2 separate regions of the Homo sapiens genome follow, and region 2 is linked to region 1. Evidence: promoter capture Hi-C in human tissues and cell types (Jung and others, 2019). All regions are on one chromosome and are shown on one strand. The core of a region is centred on a gene start or on the middle of the fragment in contact, and the rest is flanking DNA. Distances in the headings are between cores, read along the strand shown.

Region 1 (2,700 bases), core at 105-2,604:
CTGCAGTTCTTTTTGGTATTGTCTGTTGGATTTTGGTATCAGGGTTATGCTAAACTTGGGAAATGAAATAAAAATTTTTGTTTCTTTTGTTTATTTTTTCCTGTGTAACAGTTTAAGTAACATAGGGATGATCTGTGCCCTGATGGGAGGATAAGGCTTGCTGTAAAGCCATCTGAACCCATGGCATTTCTGAGTAGTGAAGACACTGGGAATGCACACGTGCATGGCTTCCCTACAGGATGTTTCCCCCGACAGCCCATTCTGCTTGGCACCCTTCTCTTTAGGATCAAACAGCTATTATGGAAAAGCCTAGAATGTGTGAAAATGAGACTCAATGCATTAGCAAATCAATGCTGATCACTCCTGCATGGTCCTCAAGTCCTAACGAATGCTCCAGCCTCCTGGCAGGAAACCTTTCAAATCTTGCACACGCTGGCCTCTGCCTGGGGTGCCTGGCTGGGCGGTGTGGGGGGCATGGTTGGTTAAGGCGCAGAGTCCGCCTTTCCTACCAGCCACTCTAGCTGAGGGTCAAGCTCTGGACCCTCCCCCAACCATCCAGCTCCATTTTATCCTTGGCTTATGCCTTCCCCAAGTACTGCAGGGTAGGACTCCTGCTAAAAACTTCTTCTAGATGCTTGCCTGAGGCTGGCCCCATAAACCTGATTCTAGGCTTCTGGGGATAAATCATCTAACTAATATAAGAGAATTGCTAGGCAATTGGGGTTAGTTTGAGACGACTGGCTGAGCTCACCTTAGGTGAGCTGGGGGGTGGGGGAAGATGAGCTGAAGGATTCTAGGGTTCAGTGAAGCCTAGAATGGCTGGGTGGGCGGAGAGTCCTTAGAAGGGTCCAACTTCTAGCCTGAGGGCCTGGGGGCTTCCAGGGATCTGCAGCCGAGCGGAAGACCGGTCTTGCGTACAGCGAGGCCTACGAGAGCTAAGTGGGCTGAGGGTCCCTGGAAAAGACCAGCCTGGGGGCGGGGACCATCGATGCCCCAGGCTCTAGAGGCCGTGGGCTCCCGGGGGCCTGAGGCTGGACTGGGGTCGCCGGCGGGCTCGGGGAGGCCCGGGTGGGCGCACCGGGGCCCTGCCTGCGGCTGACGGGCTGGGTCGAGGGGGAGGCTGGGGAGGCGGGGTGCCGGCCGGGGCGGCGGCGCGGGCTCGGGACGCCAGGGCTCCCTCTCCCTCCTCCCGCCCGAGCCAGCCTCGGGCGCCGGGCGCCTCCCCCGATCCTGAACCAGCGCCAGCGCCGGGAGGCCCGGAGCCCGGCCCGCCGCCGCGGCCCGCGGAGGGAGCCGCCGCCGCCACTGCCGTTGTCGCCGCCGCCGCCAGGCCGCGCCCCGCCCCTCCGCCGCCGCCGCCGCCGCCGCCGCTCTCGGTGAGGCTCGCGCTCGAGCTGCGGCGCCGGCTCCTGCCGCCTGGGCCCCGGGCCCGGCCCCTCCCGCGCCGCCCGGGCGATGAGAAGCTGCTTCTGCGTGAGACGGAGCCGGGACCCGCCGCCGCCGCAGCCACCGCCGCCGCCGCCCCAGCGGGGAACAGTTAAGTGAGGCCCGGGCGCCGCGGAGGCTCGGCGGAGCCGGCCCTGCAGCCGGGAGGGCGGGCGGGCGGGCGCGGGCCCCCGGCCGAGGGGCGGGCGGACGGGAGGAGCCGGGCCGCGCCGAGGCCTGCGGGCTCCGTGCCCGGCCCGCGGCGGGGACAGGCCCGGGCGGCCTTTGCAGAGCCCCGAGCGCGCCGCGGCTGCCGGTGCCCGGGCTCGGCCTGGCGGCGAGAGGCGGGAGAAGCTGGGGGACCCGAGTGCCAGCAGCGCCCCCAAGGCCCGGGCAGGTGAGGGGCGCCGAGAGCCACCTCTGCCCGCGTGAGAGGGAGGCGGCCCACCTGGGCACAGACTGGGAACAGTCAATCGTTTGACCGGCCTGGCCTGGGGTCCTGCTCTCTCTGGTCACGTGGGTGCAGACCAACGTGCACCTGCCCCAGGAGCATCACTGCCTCTGTGACCTGGGCACAGCAGAGAGGACACCTAAACCCTCAGGCACCTGTCTGGAAGGTGACATGCCCAGCCTGGGTACCCGAGACCCAGAGCACCCATCCAGGAACATGGTGGGCACGTCGAGCACCCTACAGTGACTCCAACACCAGCGAGACGGGAGGAGCAGGGGCTGGGACAAGAGCTGAGGCATGGCACCAGGGGACATCACATCCTCAGAGGCAGGCACCAGGGAACGGGGTAGACCCAAGAGCATCTTTTGTCCTCTTTGTTACCAACACACAACTGTTCTAAATCAGCAGCCCTTCTCACCATGAAAGATGAGACTCTTCTGTTCCCTGCCCCTCAACACCTCTTGCACAAGGCACTGAGGAAGACCACAGGAGGGCAAAAGGCAAATGGTGGTTGCCCCTTCCCTGCTTCCTGCCCCCACCCAAGAACCAGAGCCCACTCCGATTGCTGCCACAAAAGCAGACAGCAGACCAGCTCCTCTTAGGGGCCTTTGTCTCTCGTGGTTCCTTCTCAGTATAATCTCATTGTACATTTCTCGACAGCTGGCTGGATCTCATCTCGTTTTAACAGGGCTGGGAAATCTTATCAGCGGCACCAGGAAAGCTTAGAGAGTTAAAAAATAAGCTCTGTGAAGCCTTGACTAACTGAAAAACTCAATGTGCTAGGATGTTTAGTTACAGTAGATGGTGACACCTTTCTTGCTTGT
Region 2 (2,743 bases), core at 135-2,634, 61 kb before region 1:
AGGAAATTTTTTTAAACATACATTCTACTGTATATACTTTCCTGCATCTTTCTTTTTTCCATCGGTAATAAGCATCTTTTCTTGTCAATATCTATATATCAATCTGATTCATTTTAATGATTACAGTGTATTGCATAGTACGGATTTAAAATAGTTTATTGAATCACATTCTGTTTGATGGACACTTAGATTATTTCCAAGTTTTGCTATTATAGAGAATGCTGCAGCAGACAGCATGTACAAGCTGCCTTAGGAATGTTTGACAATGTTTCTTGCTCTAAGGTAGCAAAGACATGGAATTGTGTTACACAGTGTACAGTTTTTCATCTCAGTCCTGCCCAAATGCCCTTGAAAGTGGGAATGCCATTTTGAGTACATTTTATACAAACTTTATATTGCTCTTATAATGTATGAATGTATTACCCCCATCTTGCCAACACTTATTATATTCAAACTTAAAAAAATTGCTAAGGTAATGAGTGAAGAATAGTATCTCTTTATTTTACTTTGCAGCAAGTTCCCTGATTATTAGTAAAATGAAGCATCTTTTAAAATAGGATTAGTGACCATTATTAATTTCCTTTTCTGTGGATTGCCTATCCACATCCTTTGTCCATTTTCTATTAGATTGCTGGATTTTTTTTCTCACTGATTTGTAAGAGTCCTTTCATCTTGATCCTAGTCCTTTGTCTCTTAAATAGGTTGTCAATATTTTTGGCACACTTGTCATTTTTCAAAATCTTTTGTAGTGTCATTTATCATGCAGAATTATGACTTATAGTGTAGTCAAATTTATTAAACTTTGCGTTTATGGCTTTTGGTTTCTGTGCCTTATCTAAGAAGCTGCCTGTGCCCCAAGTTGATATTAAAGTCTCCTACATCTCCTACATTTCTTCTAATACAATTGTTTTACATTTTGCTCTTAGGATTTTAATTTATTGAACTTTTTCTTATGGATAGTGTGAGGTAGGATCTAATTTTATTTTTTCCAAATAGTATACAATTTTTCCAATATCATTTATTGAACACTACATAGTTTACTCAAGCATTTGGCATTGTATCTTATTTAAATTCATAAATCAGTGAACACGGTATATCTGAACTCTACTCAGTTCTGTTCATTTAATTGCCTTCTCCAGCACCAATATCACACCCTTTTAATTCCTATTATTTTATAAAATTATGACTCTTATAGAACAAAAATAGATTCTTTTAAATATTCCTCTGGTCAATTCATGTACATTTGTTCTTCCATATTAATTTTAGAACCAGCTTGTAAAATTCCATGAAAAATCATATCGAGTTGCAATTGATATCTCATTGATTTTAAAGGCTATTTTGAAAGAATTTATTTTATTTTCCAAATGCTTTAAGCTTTTTATTTGCTTACACTTCTGTTATGAATTTTTTGTTTTATTGCATGCAAGAAAATACAGCCTTCTCCCAGCAATAAATGCTAATTGAGAACCTACTCAATTGTATAGCCACTGTACTGGACTCTGAGGACCGAGTTGTGATGAGACAGATATGTTCTCTGCTCTCTTGTGGCTTAAACTTCCTATCTTTTGAAAGTTATTAACATTTCCTTTGTGGGTTAGAAAAATGATTACTTTTTTTTAAAATGCTAACTGGAACGTGTTAAGATTATATATTCTATATTTGTAGATTGCCGATTTTGAAATGTATCTAGTAAATAACCTTATTAATGAAATTATTCATATCTCTCATATTTTTATTTCTTTTTGCCTACTTGATTTGACAAAGACTAAGCAATGCAATAATATTAAGGTACCCTATTAAGATTGTGACTTTGCCAAATTCATCTTGTTATTTCTCATAGCTTTTGCTTGTATATTGCTTTTTAAAAATTACCATTTGTTAGATTTTTTTAATAAAGAAAATGTTAAAGAATATCCCATAATCTCACCATCAACATAATCTTTGCTAACCCCTATTGTGTGTGCACATGCATGCACACACACAGGGCTAGGAAATACAAATGGTACAGAAACACTGAAAACAAAAACTCAAGTCTTCTGTGTCACTATCCCTCTTTCCACTGCTAACCATTGGCAGGATTTATCTGCAGTAACCTTCCTTCCCTCCAGTGCTGTCCCATAGAAGCTGCCGTTTCTGGAACTTCAGTGATGAACTGGACGTGGGCTCTATCTAATGACACAGCCTCCATCATGACTTGGAGCTGGTGTTCTCAAAACCCTACCCCAGTCCTGTTGCCGATGCCTCCTGCTCTGAAACTGCTTAAGGCTAAGAAGCCTTCCTTCTAGAGCAGTGCTTCTCGCGTGTCCATGTGCACACAGATCCCGAGGGATGTTGATAAAAAGCAGATTCTAATTCAGTGGGCTGGTGTAAGACCTAAGATTCCGCGTCTTTTTTAAGACAGAGTCTTACTCTGTCGGCCAGGCTGGAGTGCAATAACGTGATCTCGGCTTACTGCAACCTCTGCCTCCTGGGTTCAATGATTCTCATGACTCAGCCTCCCAAGTAGCTGGGATTACAGGCGCTTGCCATCGCGCCCAGCTAATTTTTGTATTTTTAGTAGAGACAGGGTTTCACCATGTTGGCCAGGCTGGTCTTGAACTCCTGACCTAGGGCAATCCACCCACTTCGGCCTCCTAAAGTGCTGGGATTACAGGCGTGAGCCACCGTGCCCGGCAGATTCTGCATTTCTAACAAGGTAACGAGAGTGATGTTTGTGGGCCAACCTTTGAGGAGCAAGGACCTG

Evidence for each region. The method cuts DNA at HindIII sites, captures the fragments that hold promoters and counts their contacts. A contact is called where the count stands out against the background at its distance.
Region 2: a fragment that was not itself captured here is called in contact with the fragment with the promoter of MVB12B in region 1 in 1 of the 25 tissues and cell types used here (lymphoblastoid cells).

Annotation. Positions count from the first base shown.
Region 1 is chr9:126,325,475-126,328,174 of GRCh38, forward strand. MVB12B (multivesicular body subunit 12B) reads left to right here and starts at 1,355. Exons shown (of 10, transcript NM_033446.3): 1 at 1,355-1,536. The coding sequence starts at 1,456. RefSeq lists a silencer at 1,340-1,479 and an enhancer at 1,921-2,572. The HindIII fragment of the contact is 8,205 bases long and covers 1-2,700 here.
Region 2 is chr9:126,264,560-126,267,302 of GRCh38, forward strand. No RefSeq gene overlaps it. Among named protein-coding and RNA genes, the nearest start is that of MVB12B, 61 kb to the right of the region's middle. The HindIII fragment of the contact is 5,437 bases long and covers 1-2,743 here.